Regions from separate parts of the Homo sapiens genome. Here regions 1 and 3 are each linked to region 2. Evidence: promoter capture Hi-C in 16 types of primary human blood cells and fetal thymus (Javierre and others, 2016). All regions are on one chromosome and are shown on one strand. Each heading gives the region's core, a stretch centred on a gene start or on the middle of the fragment in contact. The rest is flanking DNA. Distances are from core to core; before and after follow the strand shown.

Region 1 (4,403 bases), core at 534-3,033, 220 kb after region 2:
TTTTAATAGTTAAATATTATTCTTGCCTTTTTTTTTTTTTTTTTTTTTTCTTTTCTTAGGGTCTTGCTCTGTCACCCAGGCTGGAGGGCAGTGGTGTGATCACGGCTCAGTGCAGCCTTGAACTCCTAGGCTCAAGGGATCCTCCCCTGCCTCAGCCTCCTGAATAGCTGGGACTACAGATGTGTGCCACTGTACTGGCTAATTTTTTTTTTTTTTTTTTTTTTTTTTTAGACAGAGTCTCACTCTGTCACCCAGGCTGGAGTGCAGTGGCATGATCTTGGCTCACTGCAACCTCCACATCCTAGGTTCAGGGGATTCTCCTACCTCAGCCTCCAGAGTAGCTGGGACTACAGGTGTGTGCCACCATGCCCAGCTAATTTTTGTATTTTTAGTAGAGATTGGATTTCACCATGTTGGCCAGGCTGGTCTCGAACTCCTGACCACAAATGCTCCTCCTGCCTTGGCCTCCCAAAGTGCTGGGATTACAGGCATGAGCCACCACGCCCGGCCAAACTTTTTTCTTTATACTTCTGAATTTCCCAAATTTTCTATTAAAGTAAATTATAAAAAGTAGCTGAGGCAAGACAACAATTGTTAAGCTTCTATTATTGTAATACCCAAGTGTAAGAAATACAGTTGCCGTTCACACCTGTGTAGGTAGCTTTCCTAGATGACTGAATTAGGCTGCATGTATTATGTGCAGGCCTTTGTTTTGCTCTCTGCCAAAACGGTGACTGCTGTTCTAAGAGCTCTCGAAGCACCGTTGGACTCTGCTCTGTTTTGAACAGGTTGTCGGGGTACCAGTTGGGTCTGCTTTACCTTCAACAGTGAAGCAGGCTGTGGCGATCAGTGGTGGCCAGATCCTGGTAGCCAAGGCCAGCTCTTCTGTCTCCAAAGCAGTTGGGCCAAAGCAAGTTGTAACCCAAGGAGTTGCCAAAGCAATTGTGAGTGGAGGTGGAGGAACCATTGTTGCTCAGCCAGTGCAGACCTTAACCAAGGCCCAGGTTACTGCCGCTGGTCCTCAGAAGAGTGGATCCCAGGGTTCAGGTAAAACGGATCATCACTGGGAGCCCTTTCAGCAGAAGCTCTGTCCAAAATTTCCTTTGCTAGTGATTTTATTTGCTATTTGATCTGGTCTAGGAAAGCCTAGTTAGGTTGATGCTGTAAGAAGTGTATTGAAATGTTTGTTCTTTTTTATGGGACATTTTACATAAAGGTCTGTGAGTATTTAGCTTTAAATTTACACACACACACACACACACCCACATACACACACACACACGAACAAATCATTTCTCAGTACTGTGGGGGATTGGTTCCAGGACCCCCTGCTGCAGATAGCAAAATCCACAGATGCTAATCCACAGTCCCCTGTGTAAAATGCTGTACTGTTTACGTATAACCTATGTACATCCTCTGATGTACTTTACTTTATATCATCTCTAGGTTATCTTAATACCTAATAACAATGTAAATAACAATGTAATAACAATGTATATGCTATGTAAATAGTTGTTACACTGTGTTGTTTAAGGAATAATGACAAGAAAAAAGTCTGTACATGTTCAGTACAGATGTACTCATCCTTTTGTCTGCCAAATATATGGATATTTTTTATCTGAGGTAGGTTACATCCATGGATGTGAAATCCACAGATACAGAGGGCCAATGGTACTTGCCAGTTAGGAGCACACATTTGCCCTAACTTTGACTTTAAACAAATGGGGGAAAATATGTAATCCTCCATAGACAGGGTGATTATTTCATTAATCGTCCAAACCACAGTACTTTGGAGAGTAAAAAGAGTCATTATTAATAATTATAGTGGGACAGGTGTAACCTAGAACTGTTCTGGGCAGAACCAGGACGTACGATCATCCTATTATATACAGATATAAAGAGCCTCTGGCAGGCTCTTCTGGTCTATAAATTATTTTTTAATTAGCAAGATATTTAAGAATATCAGTCTTTAAAGCATTGTGCATCTGGGAAACAAACTTTGAATTTATTGCTTGTTAGTGTTCTAAAATAAGAATTTATTGCCTTGTATTTTAATTTTAGAGTGTTGCCCTTAGTTTCAATTTATCTTACAATTTTTTCTCCTTTACCATTTTAGTAATGGCAACGTTGCAGCTACCAGCCACTAATTTGGCCAACTTGGCAAATTTGCCTCCTGGCACTAAACTCTACCTAACTACAAACAGCAAGAACCCTTCAGGAAAAGGAAAACTGCTGCTGATCCCTCAAGGAGCCATCCTGCGAGCTACGAACAATGCTAGTTAGTGAAACCATTGGGTTGAATCATTTGGTTCTTGGTTCTCTATGTGTGTTCATCTTGTCCATCTGAGGGCAGTTCTTACCTGTTTCAGGAAGCATTTCTGTAACTCTGTTGGGTGGTGTAATGGTAGCATTTGCTCAGATGGATTTAACACATACGATAATTTAACTAGAAGTGGGTTTGCTCCTCAGCGTTTGCAATCAGAGATGAATCACTCTGGAGAGAGATGGCTGGTGAGGCTGTTGGGAGAAAGCTGTCTACATGAACCATGAATGAAGTGGTGTCTGAAAATTATCTGGTGATACCTGAGGGAAGATCCATCTACTTATAGAAGCTGGAAGTCTGTTTTTGGGGATAGGTTGGCATAGGATTGGAATCGAGTGTGTCTGTTTGACTTCATTTAGATCAGGGGTCCCCAACCCCTGGGCCGCACAGCAGAAGTTGAGCATGGACGAAGAAGCATTACTGCCTGAGCTCCGCCTCCTGTCAGATCAGCAGTGGCATCAGATTCTCACAGGAGCGCGAACCCTGTTGAGAACTGTGCATGCGAGGGATCTAGGTTGTGTGCTCCTTATGAGAATCTAATGCCTGATGATCTGAGGTGGAACAATTTCTTCCCCAAACCACCCCCCGCCTCCTGTCCCAATTCATGGAAAAGTTGTCTTCCATGAAACTGGTCCCTGGTGCCACAAAGCTTGGGGACAGCTGGTTTGGATGTATTCCTTACTTCTGCTAGGTTTGGAGATGGAAAGAGAAATACAGACTCTACCTAGGTTTGTAAGTCTTAAAGCCCCATGGAAATGAGGCAGTTTATCTGCAGTTAAAGAAACTTTTGCTTTGACATATAGAGAAAAACCGTTTGGGCAGTGTTGAAAAGGATAGGATAAAAGGAAATTATTTCCCTCTGAATCAGAAGTAGAAGGGTACAGCATTCAGGGTCATTGGAAGTTAACCGCCCTTGCCAAAATGCAGTGTGTCAGCTCATCATCCTTGCGTTCATTGACCATGATGTGTCAGTTCCACTCTCACTTGGTGTTTTTTCCTCATACCTAAGCAGTGGTATGTCCAAAAGTTAAATGTGTAAGAAAAGGACAATGTAAATATTTCAGAAGTCATCCAGGGAGCTACTTAGATTCTTGTGATATCCTTGGTGCAAAAATAAACCATTGGGAAGGAAGCTATTCCAATAATCACTGGAATGAAGGTGGAGAAGGAAATTGGAAGTTAGTATTTGTTGAGTGAATATTCATAGTCCAGGTAGTTCAAATGCATTATCTCACCAAAAGAGAAGTAAAAAGACTTCAAGGCTTTGAAGTGGGATTTGAAAGGCAAAGAAGAATGGGGTCCTGGAGTCATTGTAAATGAAGGAAAGTCTTCATTTTTCCTGAGACAGGGAGACAACATCGAGCACTGTAAAGTTACACTAAATTCCAGCAATTCCCTGACATTGAATCAGATGCCCAAAAGTTGGGAAGCACCTAGCTGAGCACATTTAAGTGTTGATTAAAATACTTGGCTAGAGGCTGGGTGCAGTGGCTCACACCTGCAATCCCAGCACTTTGGAGGGCCAAGGCGGGCGGATCATGAGGTCAGGAGATCGAGACCATCCTGTCCAACATGGTGAAACCCCCTCTCTACTAAAAATACAAAATTAGCTGGGCATGGTGGCACACGCCTGTAGTCCCAGCTCCTTGGGAGGCTGAGGCAGGAGAATCGCTTGAACCCGGGAGGCAGAGGTTGCAGTGAGCCAAGATCTTGCCATTGCACTCCAGCCTGGCGACAGAGTGAGACTCCGTCTCAAAAAAATACTTGGCTAGAAAATGTCAGTAGCAAGCCTTCTCTTGATCTCCCACGACCACGTCAAAGTATCTTCATTGTACTCAGAGCCGAAATACAGTCAGTTGTCATGCAGTTGAAAGGAAATAGATTTTGATCTAAAATCTAGGAAGTTCTCCTCACTCTTGTCACAGGGTAGGTAGATTACAGAAAAGACGGAGGAAAATGGGAAAGAAGAAGGAATGGCACTAAAAGGGAAACATCTCTCTGGGCTCATTTGTTTTTTATGCTAAAGCTTTGCTTGATACTTTTTATGATGTTGCTGTCATTCATTGTATTTTTAGATCTC
Region 2 (4,453 bases), core at 1,151-3,650:
TCAGCAGGGCTGGAAGGACCCAAGCCCAAATTCCCATTTAGGATGAGAAACCCAAGAACCAGAGAAGACCAGTGATCAACTCGAGGGCACACAGCCAGCGGGCCTGGTCCACAGCCAGGCCAACCCGCTAACAAAACTGCTTCCAGGTATGCATTTTATGATAGCAAGGGATACAAAAGGATCAACCTAAATGTGCGTCCCCAGGGCATTGAGCTAACTTGACTTCACTCACTCCTGAGAGGGGCTGCAGTCAACGTGAAAGCACGTGATCAAGGTTGGTGGAGAAAGTAATGTGTTTATATCAACCCATTTTGATGGCTGTGTTTACACTTTATATTTTACACACTTCCCATGGAATGAAGTCCCAGACCTAGTGGCAGCTTGCATTGCAGTAACAAGGATTTCCAGAACATACCCAGTCCCTGCTCCAGCAATGACCAGATATATAATGCTGAGTTTTCATTTCCTCATCTGTGAAATATCAGCCACCTTCATCATGCTGTTACAAAAATAAAATCAGATAACTATGTCTGTCTGGCACACAGCAGCCACTGCTTCCCTCAAACCCAGATATCCCCTTGTCTTATCAACACAGGAGACCTAATGAGTCCCACAGCAACCTGCTGATCCTGCTCTATGAATTACAAAGAAACGTTTCCCCCCAAGCACCTCAAAAAAAAAAAAAAGAAAGAAAGAAAACGCTTTCCATAATACTTTCATAGGTTAATCGTTTTCAATTTCCTCAGCCAGAATCAAGAGTTAAGAAGAATCTCATTAAGAAGAATTCTAAGGGTATTTCTTTTCAAGTTCCCAAATACTTTCTTCATTATCCACATTGCCCTTGCAGGCTGGTTCCCCCATGTCCATGCTGATATGGAGAACACTGGATCAGGTGTATTCACTGGGTTCCCAGCGCTATAAAATTCCTACCCCAGGGACGTGCTCATGGGAAACACTCAATAAGTCATCCTTAGCTGAATCAAGCAGAATCAGAAAAAGAATTCCAAGAAAGATATATTGAGCATCTACTTACTATATGCTAGACACTGTGTAGGACCCTTTTCACGCTCTTGTTTAATTATGACAGCCCTGAAAGGTGATCATCATTGTGCTCACCTTACAGATGATGAAACAGACATTCAGAGCACTTTGTGACTTGCCTAAAGTTTCACTGTCAAGAAGGAACCAAGTCTCCTGACTTCAGGCCTTCCCACTATGAGATCACCAGTTTATCGTAACTAGAGGCCTCTCCCATCTAAAGCATCTTTGTAACTGCTTTCCCTTTCCCCACACTGCCTACACATAAAGAAGCCCCTAATTTGTAACAAGTCATTTGACAACTCCAGAAGAGGGGCCACATCCTTTTTCTCTATGTCTGTTGATTAACAAAGACAACATTATGTTTCCAACACCAGTCAGACCAAGGGGGAAAAAAGTCCCCATGACTTCAGTAATTTTCCATCCTTTGGAACAAGGAAATATACACAAAAGGTTTACTATAGAATGTAAGCATTGCTTTTAAATGATGCCAATCTCTCTTTTAATGTGGCCTAAATCCTAAAATTTAAAGTGTGATAAGCCGGGCGCAGCGTCTCACACCTGTAATGCCAGCACTTTGGGAGGCGGAGGCGGGTGGATCACCTGAGGTCGGGAGTTCAAGACCAACCTGACCAACATGGAGAAACCCCATCTCTATTGAAAATACAAAATTATCCGGGTGTTGTGGTGCATGCCTGCAAATCCCAGCTACTCGGGAGGCTGAGGCAGGAGAATCGCTTGAACCCAGGAGGCAGAGGTTGCGGTGAACCGAGATTGCGCCATTGCACTCCAGCCTGGGCAACAAAAGCAAAACTCCGTCTCAAAAATAAATAAATAAATAAATAATAAAATAAAGTGTGATAGTGTCCTTTCTTATATTTTAAGTAGACACACAAGCCTTAATATATATGTAAACCATAAATATCATGGCCAACTGTTCAAGATTGGGCTCTCACACTAACACACCTCTTCCTTGCAACTTGCACCCAATTTGACTCTGGTCCTAGGCATGCTGACCTGAAATAGTTGCTGGCTGCGGCAAGCACCACGCGGTGGCAGGAGAATTCCTGAATGTCCACACACAAGATGACATCTGTCAGAGCGTTTTCCATTCGCAGGGTTTCCAGGCCATTCTGAAGAATTAAGGAGAGTCCCGCGTCGTCAAATTTGACCTTTTCCCCATTTAAGATCTCGACCAAGTCTCCTGTTTTCTGGGAGGGCTCATCTGTAGAAGGTGCCAGGGGCCCTTCCAAACTCTTCTCGACCACATCACCCATGGTCCAGGCGCCCCTTTGTCCTGCCATCAACATCGAGACTGAAGGAGCGCCCAAGTGTCAGGCAGGCCCCATTGCAGGAGCTGAGCGGATTTCCTGTGCAGGGCCCTCCACTTATCACCAGCTGTCACACACACATAACAGGAAGTCTCGCACTTTCTCATCCTGTTACTACAAATGCCAGCAACTTCTATTCTTCTTCTTTCTGTGAGTAATCACAGGGTTAGAAATTACTTAGAATAGGTGTGTGGGAGGGGGTTCTGGAAGAGGAGTGTCCTCTCAGAGTCCACTGTGAGTGCTGTGTGTTTATTTTGGTGCATCTCCCACCTCATATCCGTGAGCAGGAAGCCTCCGGTGGTGGCTGTTACATTTGTACTCCTAATGCTATCAATAACCCAAGTCGTCAATGAGGGGATGGACAGGAGACAGTCTATAATCCTCCTGCTTCACATTTGTACTCCTAGTGGCTCAATAACCCAAGTCGTCAGCGAGGGGATGGACAGGAGACAGTCTATGATCCTCCCACTTCCTCCTCCCAGGAGTCTGAGACCCCACAATGATCCAACAACCGTGCTTTGTAAACCATGGAAACCCCACTTATCCCTGACATTCTCATTTCTGGCGGCACTGCAGATCGTCTATCTTCATCCTCCTCCCTACCCAGGGGAAAACAACGTCATGGCAAACTTTCATGTCTTCCCCCACCAAAAAAAATGTCTATTGTTTCGAATATGCTTTGGGGGCACAGAAGAAATGGTTTCCAAAACTCCATCAACAGCATCTTCTCAGAGGATGAGTCAGGGTGGGTCTACACCGAATTGCCATAGCACGTCTCAGATTAGCCCAACATCTACTGACCGTGCATCTAACGGTGGATCCTGAAGTATTTTCATTACCTCTGCATGTCTCAGTTAAGTAGTAATAACTGTCATTATTAAAATCCCATGATATCCTGGGGAAGTTATAGGAGCGTATCAGTTAGCGTTCTCTCACGCCCAACAGTAATGCTTTACCAGGTTGCTAGGTATTTCTTAGCCCAGCAAACTTGACATCTAAAATTAACCATTACAATTACAGTCATACCCAGCATAATGATATTTCAGTCGATGATGGACTCCAGAGAGACAGAACCAAAAGGATACCTAGAGAGGCATAGCAGAGGGAAATTATTAGGGGAATTGGCTCACGTGATTATGGAGACTGAGAAGTCGCATGACAGACTGCTGAGAGCTCAGTTCAAGTCCAAAGGCCTCAGAACCAGAGAAGATGGTATAACTCTCAGTCCAAAGCCAAAGGCCTGAGAATCCAGGGGGTGGGGAGACTGGTGTAAGTCCTGAAGTCCAAAGGCAGGGGATCCTGGAGTCCTGTTGTTCAAGGCAGGAGATGACTGTATCCCAGCCTCAGGAGATAGAGACATCGACCTTTCTTCTGTTTTTGTTTTCTCTGGGCCCCTGGCTGATTGGATGGTGCCCACCCACACTGAGAGTGTATCTTCTCTACCGAGTCCACTCAGACTCACTAATCTCTCCTGGAAACAACCTCACAGACACGCCCCATGGTAATGCTTTAACAGGTTGCTAGGTATTTCTTAGCCCAGTAAACTTGACATCTAAAATTAACGGTCACAAGTACAGTCATGCCCAGCACAATGACATTTCAATCGATGATGGACTGAATATACAATTGTGGTCCCAAAAGATTATAATGGAGCATATAAAGAAACCTGACGGCCGGGCGTGGTGGCTCATGCCTGTAATCCCAGCACTTTGGGAGACCAAGGCAGGGGGATCACAAGGTCAGGAGCTCAAGACCAGCCTGAGCAACATGGTGAAACCCCCATCTCTACTAAAAATACAAAAATTAGCCAGTCGCGGTGGCGTACACCTGTAATCCCAGCTACTTGGGAGGCTGAGGAAGGAGAATCGCTTGAACCCGGGAGGTGGAGGTTGCAGTGAGCTGAGATTGTGCCATTGCACTCCAGCCTGGGCAATAAGAGCGAAACTCTGCCTCAAAAAAAAAAAAAAAGTCATGGAAAAATAATGCCATTCACAATGGTAATAAAACATATGTAAATGCCTAGCAATAACAGCAACCAGCAACATAAAGAAAACTAACAAACTTTACTAAGAGTTTCGAAAGAA
Region 3 (4,606 bases), core at 941-3,440, 230 kb after region 2:
TGAGGCAGGAGAATGGCATGAACCCAGGAGGCAGAGCTTGCAGTGAGCCGAGATTGCGCCACTCCACTCCAGCCTGGACAGTAGAGCGAGATTCCATCTCAAAAAATATATATAAATAAATTATTATGGGTACATAATCAATGTGGATATTCACAGGGTACATGTGATGTTTTGATGCAGGCATACAATGCGTAATAATCGCATCAGGGTAATTGGGGTATCTGTCACCCTAAGCATTTATCTTTTTTTTAAACCAATTGTATTCTTTGTGACTGTAAAATATATAAGAAATTATTGTGAATTTTGGTCACCCTGTTGTGCTATCAAATACTAGATCTTACTCATCCCTTCTAACTATATTTTTGTACCCATTAACCATCCCCACTCCCTCCCTCCCTGCTGTTGGCCTTCCCACCTTCTGGTAACCACCATTCTTCTCTCTGTCTTCATGGGTTCAGTTGTTTTAATTGTTAGCTCCCACATGAGTGAGAACGTGTGAAATGTGTCTTTCTGTGCCTGGCTTATTTCACTTAACATAATGTCCTCCAGTTCTATCCATGTTGCAAATGACAGGATTTCATTCTTTCTTATAACGGAATAATATTGTATTGTGTATATGTACCACATTTTCTTTATCGTTCACCTGGTGATGGACACTTAGGTTGATTCCAAATCTTGGCTATTGTGAATAGTGCCGTAATAAACATGGAAGTGCAGACGTCTCCTCATATACTCATTTCCTTTGTTTTGGGTATATACCTAGCAGTGGGATGTGGATCATATGGTAGTTCTATTTTCAGTTTTTTGAGGACCCTCTGTACTGTTCTCTATCGTGATTGTACTAACTTAGATTCCCACCAGCAGTGTACGAGGGTTCCCTCTTCACATCCTCGCCAGCCTTTTGGATGAGAGTCATTTTAACTGGGTGGGATGCTTTCTCATTGTAGTTTTGATTTGTGTTTCTCTCACAATTAATGATGTTGAGCATTTTTTTATATGCCCCTTGGGCCATTTATGTGTCTTCTTTTGAGAAATGTGTGTTGAGATCTTTTGCCCATTTTCAAATGAGATTGTTTGGCTTTTTTCTATAGAGTTGTTTGAGCTTCTATATTCTGATTATTAATCCCTTGTCAGATGTATATGTAGTTTGCCAGTATTTCCTCCCATTCTGTGGGCTGTCTCTTTGTTGATTGTTTTCTTTGCTGTGCAGAAGCTTTTTAACTTGATGTGATCCCATTTATACATTTTTGTTTTGGTTGCCTGTGCTTTTGAGGTACTACTCAGGAAATCTTTGCCCAAACCGATGTCCTGGAGAGTTTCCCTAATGTTTTCTTGTAGTAGTTTCGTAGTTTGATGTCTTAGATTTAACTCTTTAATCCATTTTGATTGCATGGTGAGAGCTAGGGGTCTAGTTTCATTCTTCTGCATAAAGATATCCAGTTTTCCCAGCACAAGTCTTTATTAAAGTCCCAACTTACCTATTTTTCTTTCATTGCTTTTTCTTTTGATGTCACATCTGAGAAACCATTGCCTAATCCAAAGCCACAAAATTCAAGCCTTTGTTTTCTTCTAAGTTTTATACATTTAGCTCTTATATTTAGGTTTCAGATTCATTCGAGTTAATTTTTTTTTTTTTTTTTTTTTTTTTTTTGAGACAGAGTCTCGCTCTGTCACCCAAGCTGGAGTGCAGTGGCGCGATCTCGGCTCACTGCAACCTCCACCTCCTGGATTCAAGTGATTCTCCTGCCTCAGCCTCCTGAGTAGCTGAGATTACAGGCACCCACCACCACGCCCAGCTAATTTTTTTTTTTTTGTATTAGTAGAGATGGGGTTTCACCATGTTAGCCAGGAGGGTCTTGCTCTCCTGACCTCGTGATCCACCCGCTTTGGCCTCCCAAAGTGCTGGGATTATAGGCATGAGCCACTGCACCTGGCCGCTCTAGTTAATTTTTGTACGTGGTGTGAGGTAGACACCAAACTTTATTCTTTTTTATGTAAATATCCAGTTGGCCTAGAAACATTTGTTGAAAAACCATCTCTCAATCGTCTTGGAAGCCCACAGACTTGAATGATGTGGCTTGACTTCTCAAGCTTCATCTCCTGCAGCTGCTGCTTCCCCGTGCCTCTTCACAGGTGACACCACTCTGCTTTGCAGCTTCTTGAACATACAATGTTCTTTCATGCCTCACCAACTTTCTACATACTCTCCTCTGCCAGGAAACACTGTCATCTCTCCCTTTCTCTGTCTTAAATCTGGAAGATTCCTCTAAAGTGCCTAATGTTTTACCTGAAGCTTTTTCCTGTACCCTCCTGTTTCTATTCCTAGGCAGAAGCAGTGCCTTTCTTCTTGGTTGTGTTGGTGACATTTGCCTGTGCTTGCCGTAGCATCATTATACTTAGGTGACTGTTTCCTTGGTCGCTTTTCTCTCAGAGCCTTAGCACTTAACCATTATGCCGGCCATGTAGTAGATGTTTGTTCAATGAAGTGACAGACTGTAGATGTTTGTTCAATGAAGTGAATCATTGTCATGTGTTCTTAATAAAGCTCATTTTTAGTCCATGTGTATATTCTGAGAATATGTCCTCCTAGTTTTTTGGTGATGAAGTTGCCTTTTATAAAGGGATATAATAGGTGGTGAATTTTAAAAATATGATGACCCCCATGATACTTCCTTGTTTTAAATTTTTTAAATTTTCTTGGTCCATGAAATGTAAAGGTATAGTAACCACTGAACTAGAGAAGTAATCTTTTTTAAATGGTATGGCATTTACTAAGTAGTCATTAACACCTAATAGATGATATTTAGTGTGTGTGCTGTGTGGCCGTCACCGCCGTCAGTCATCACTCTGCTTTCTTCCTGAACTGTGTTGTTTCGGACCCCATGGGTGAGCAGTCTGAAGGAATGGCTCCCGTGTCTTCATCTACGGTCAGTTCTGTAACGAAAACTTCTGGGCAGCAGCAAGTGTGTGTGAGCCAGGCCACCGTGGGAACCTGCAAGGCTGCCACCCCCACCGTCGTCAGCGCCACGTCCCTCGTGCCTACACCAAACCCCATCTCTGGGAAAGCCACAGTATCCGGTGAGTTGCATTGTGATATTATTTCTCTCTCTTTTCTCTCATTGGGCTGGAATATTTTTGTTTGTTTGTTTGAGATAGCGTCTCACTCTGTCGCCCAAGCTAGAGTGCAATATCACAATCTCGACTCACTGCAACCTCTGCCTTCCAGGCTCAAGCCATCCTCCCACCTCAGCCTCTTGATTATCAGGGACCACAGGCACATGTCACCACACCCAGCTAATTTTTTGTGTTTTTGGTAGAGATGGGGTTTCACCACGTTGCCCAGGCTGGTGTTGAACTCCTCAGGTCAAGCAGTCCACCCACCTCAGCCTCCCAAAGTGCTGGGATTACAGGCGTGAGCCACTGTGCCCAGCTATTTTTTTGGAGGGTCTTAAGCAATATTTTGTATGGTAAATTGTTAAAAGTAATTAACCCAGCAGCATTTTCTGAACAGTTGCTTTTTAGATGAATTATTTTTGTTTAAAATCTACGTATCAGATTTTGTCTGAGACTTTAAATTATCATTTGAAAGTTACTATTTGAATTTTTGAATGATATAATAAACCCTTAGCCACGCAGAACCCTACTGGGTATTTTAGCTTTTTTTATAACGTAATTTTGGGGAGAGCCAAGAGTTTGCTTTCCTTAAAGTACTAATTTCTTTTTTCCTATAATCAGTGTCGAATAGAATTCACTATAAAATGTATACCTTTCTTTGCTTTTATAAAGTATATAAAATATATCTTAGCCTTGTTGACTCCAAGTCATAATTTTTAACATTAGTTATTATCTTGGCTAGTGTTAGAGTGATAGGCTGGAGATCCAGTAAGAGCTATGGTGTCTTTGTGCCTGCACTAGAGGGCCTCAGAAAAGTGTACCTTTTGTTTCTGAGTAACAGAGAGCACACATCCTGAGACCACATTGCCTTAGTTGAAGTGATTTGCTTCAGTTTCTCAGCTGTAAATGAGATTGATAATAATACCTACTTCATAAGGTTGAGAGGTTTAAATGAGTTTGTAATATATCAGTGCTTAGAATACTGTCTGGTGTGTAGTGGCCATTATATAAACAATTGCCACTGCCATTATCATGTGTGATCATTTTTGTTGTTAGTCCATAATCCTTTATCTGCAATTCTAAAATCCCAAAAGCTGTGAAAACCGAAGATTTTATTTTTTTAAATTTTACTTTAAGTTCTAGGATACATGTGTAGAACGTCCAGGTTCGTTACCTAAGTATACATGTGCCATGGTGGTTTGCTGCACCTGTCAACCCATCATCTAGGTTTTAAGCCCCACATGCATTAGGTATTTGTCCTAATGCTCTCCCTTCCCTTGCCCCGCACCCCCCAACAGGCCACGGTGTGTGATGTTCCCCTCCCTGTGTCGATGTGTTCTCATTGTTCAGTTCCCACTTATGAGTGAGAACATGCGGTGTGTGGTTTTCTGTTCCTGTGTTCGTTTGCTGATGAGAATGATGGCTTCCAGCTTCATCCATGTCCCTGCAAAGGACATGAACTCATTCTTTTTTATGGCTGCAAGATTATATT

What was found. Contacts are between HindIII fragments. The CHiCAGO score rates a contact against its expected background, and 5 or more counts as called.
Region 1: a fragment that was not itself captured here is called in contact with the fragment with the promoter of KLHL6 in region 2 in 8 of 17 cell types (endothelial precursors, M2 macrophages, megakaryocytes and 5 more); the score reaches 11.0 in endothelial precursors.
Region 3: a contact is called between a fragment that was not itself captured here and the fragment with the promoter of KLHL6 in region 2, in 2 of 17 cell types (erythroblasts and M1 macrophages). The highest score is 6.8, in erythroblasts.

Annotation. Positions count from the first base shown.
Region 1 is chr3:183,771,517-183,775,919 of GRCh38, forward strand. YEATS2 (YEATS domain containing 2) reads left to right here. Exons shown (of 31, transcript NM_018023.5): 16 at 789-1,047; 17 at 2,117-2,278; 18 at 4,399-4,403. Among named protein-coding and RNA genes, the nearest start is that of YEATS2-AS1, 37 kb to the right of the region's middle. The HindIII fragment of the contact is 2,373 bases long and covers 598-2,970 here.
Region 2 is chr3:183,553,306-183,557,758 of GRCh38, forward strand. It overlaps KLHL6 (kelch like family member 6), which reads right to left and starts at 2,401. Exons shown (of 7, transcript NM_130446.4): 1 at 2,056-2,401. The coding sequence starts at 2,348. The HindIII fragment of the contact is 8,561 bases long and covers 1-4,453 here.
Region 3 is chr3:183,787,903-183,792,508 of GRCh38, forward strand. YEATS2 (YEATS domain containing 2) reads left to right here. Exons shown (of 31, transcript NM_018023.5): 21 at 2,895-3,078. Among named protein-coding and RNA genes, the nearest start is that of YEATS2-AS1, 20 kb to the right of the region's middle. The HindIII fragment of the contact is 202 bases long and covers 2,090-2,291 here.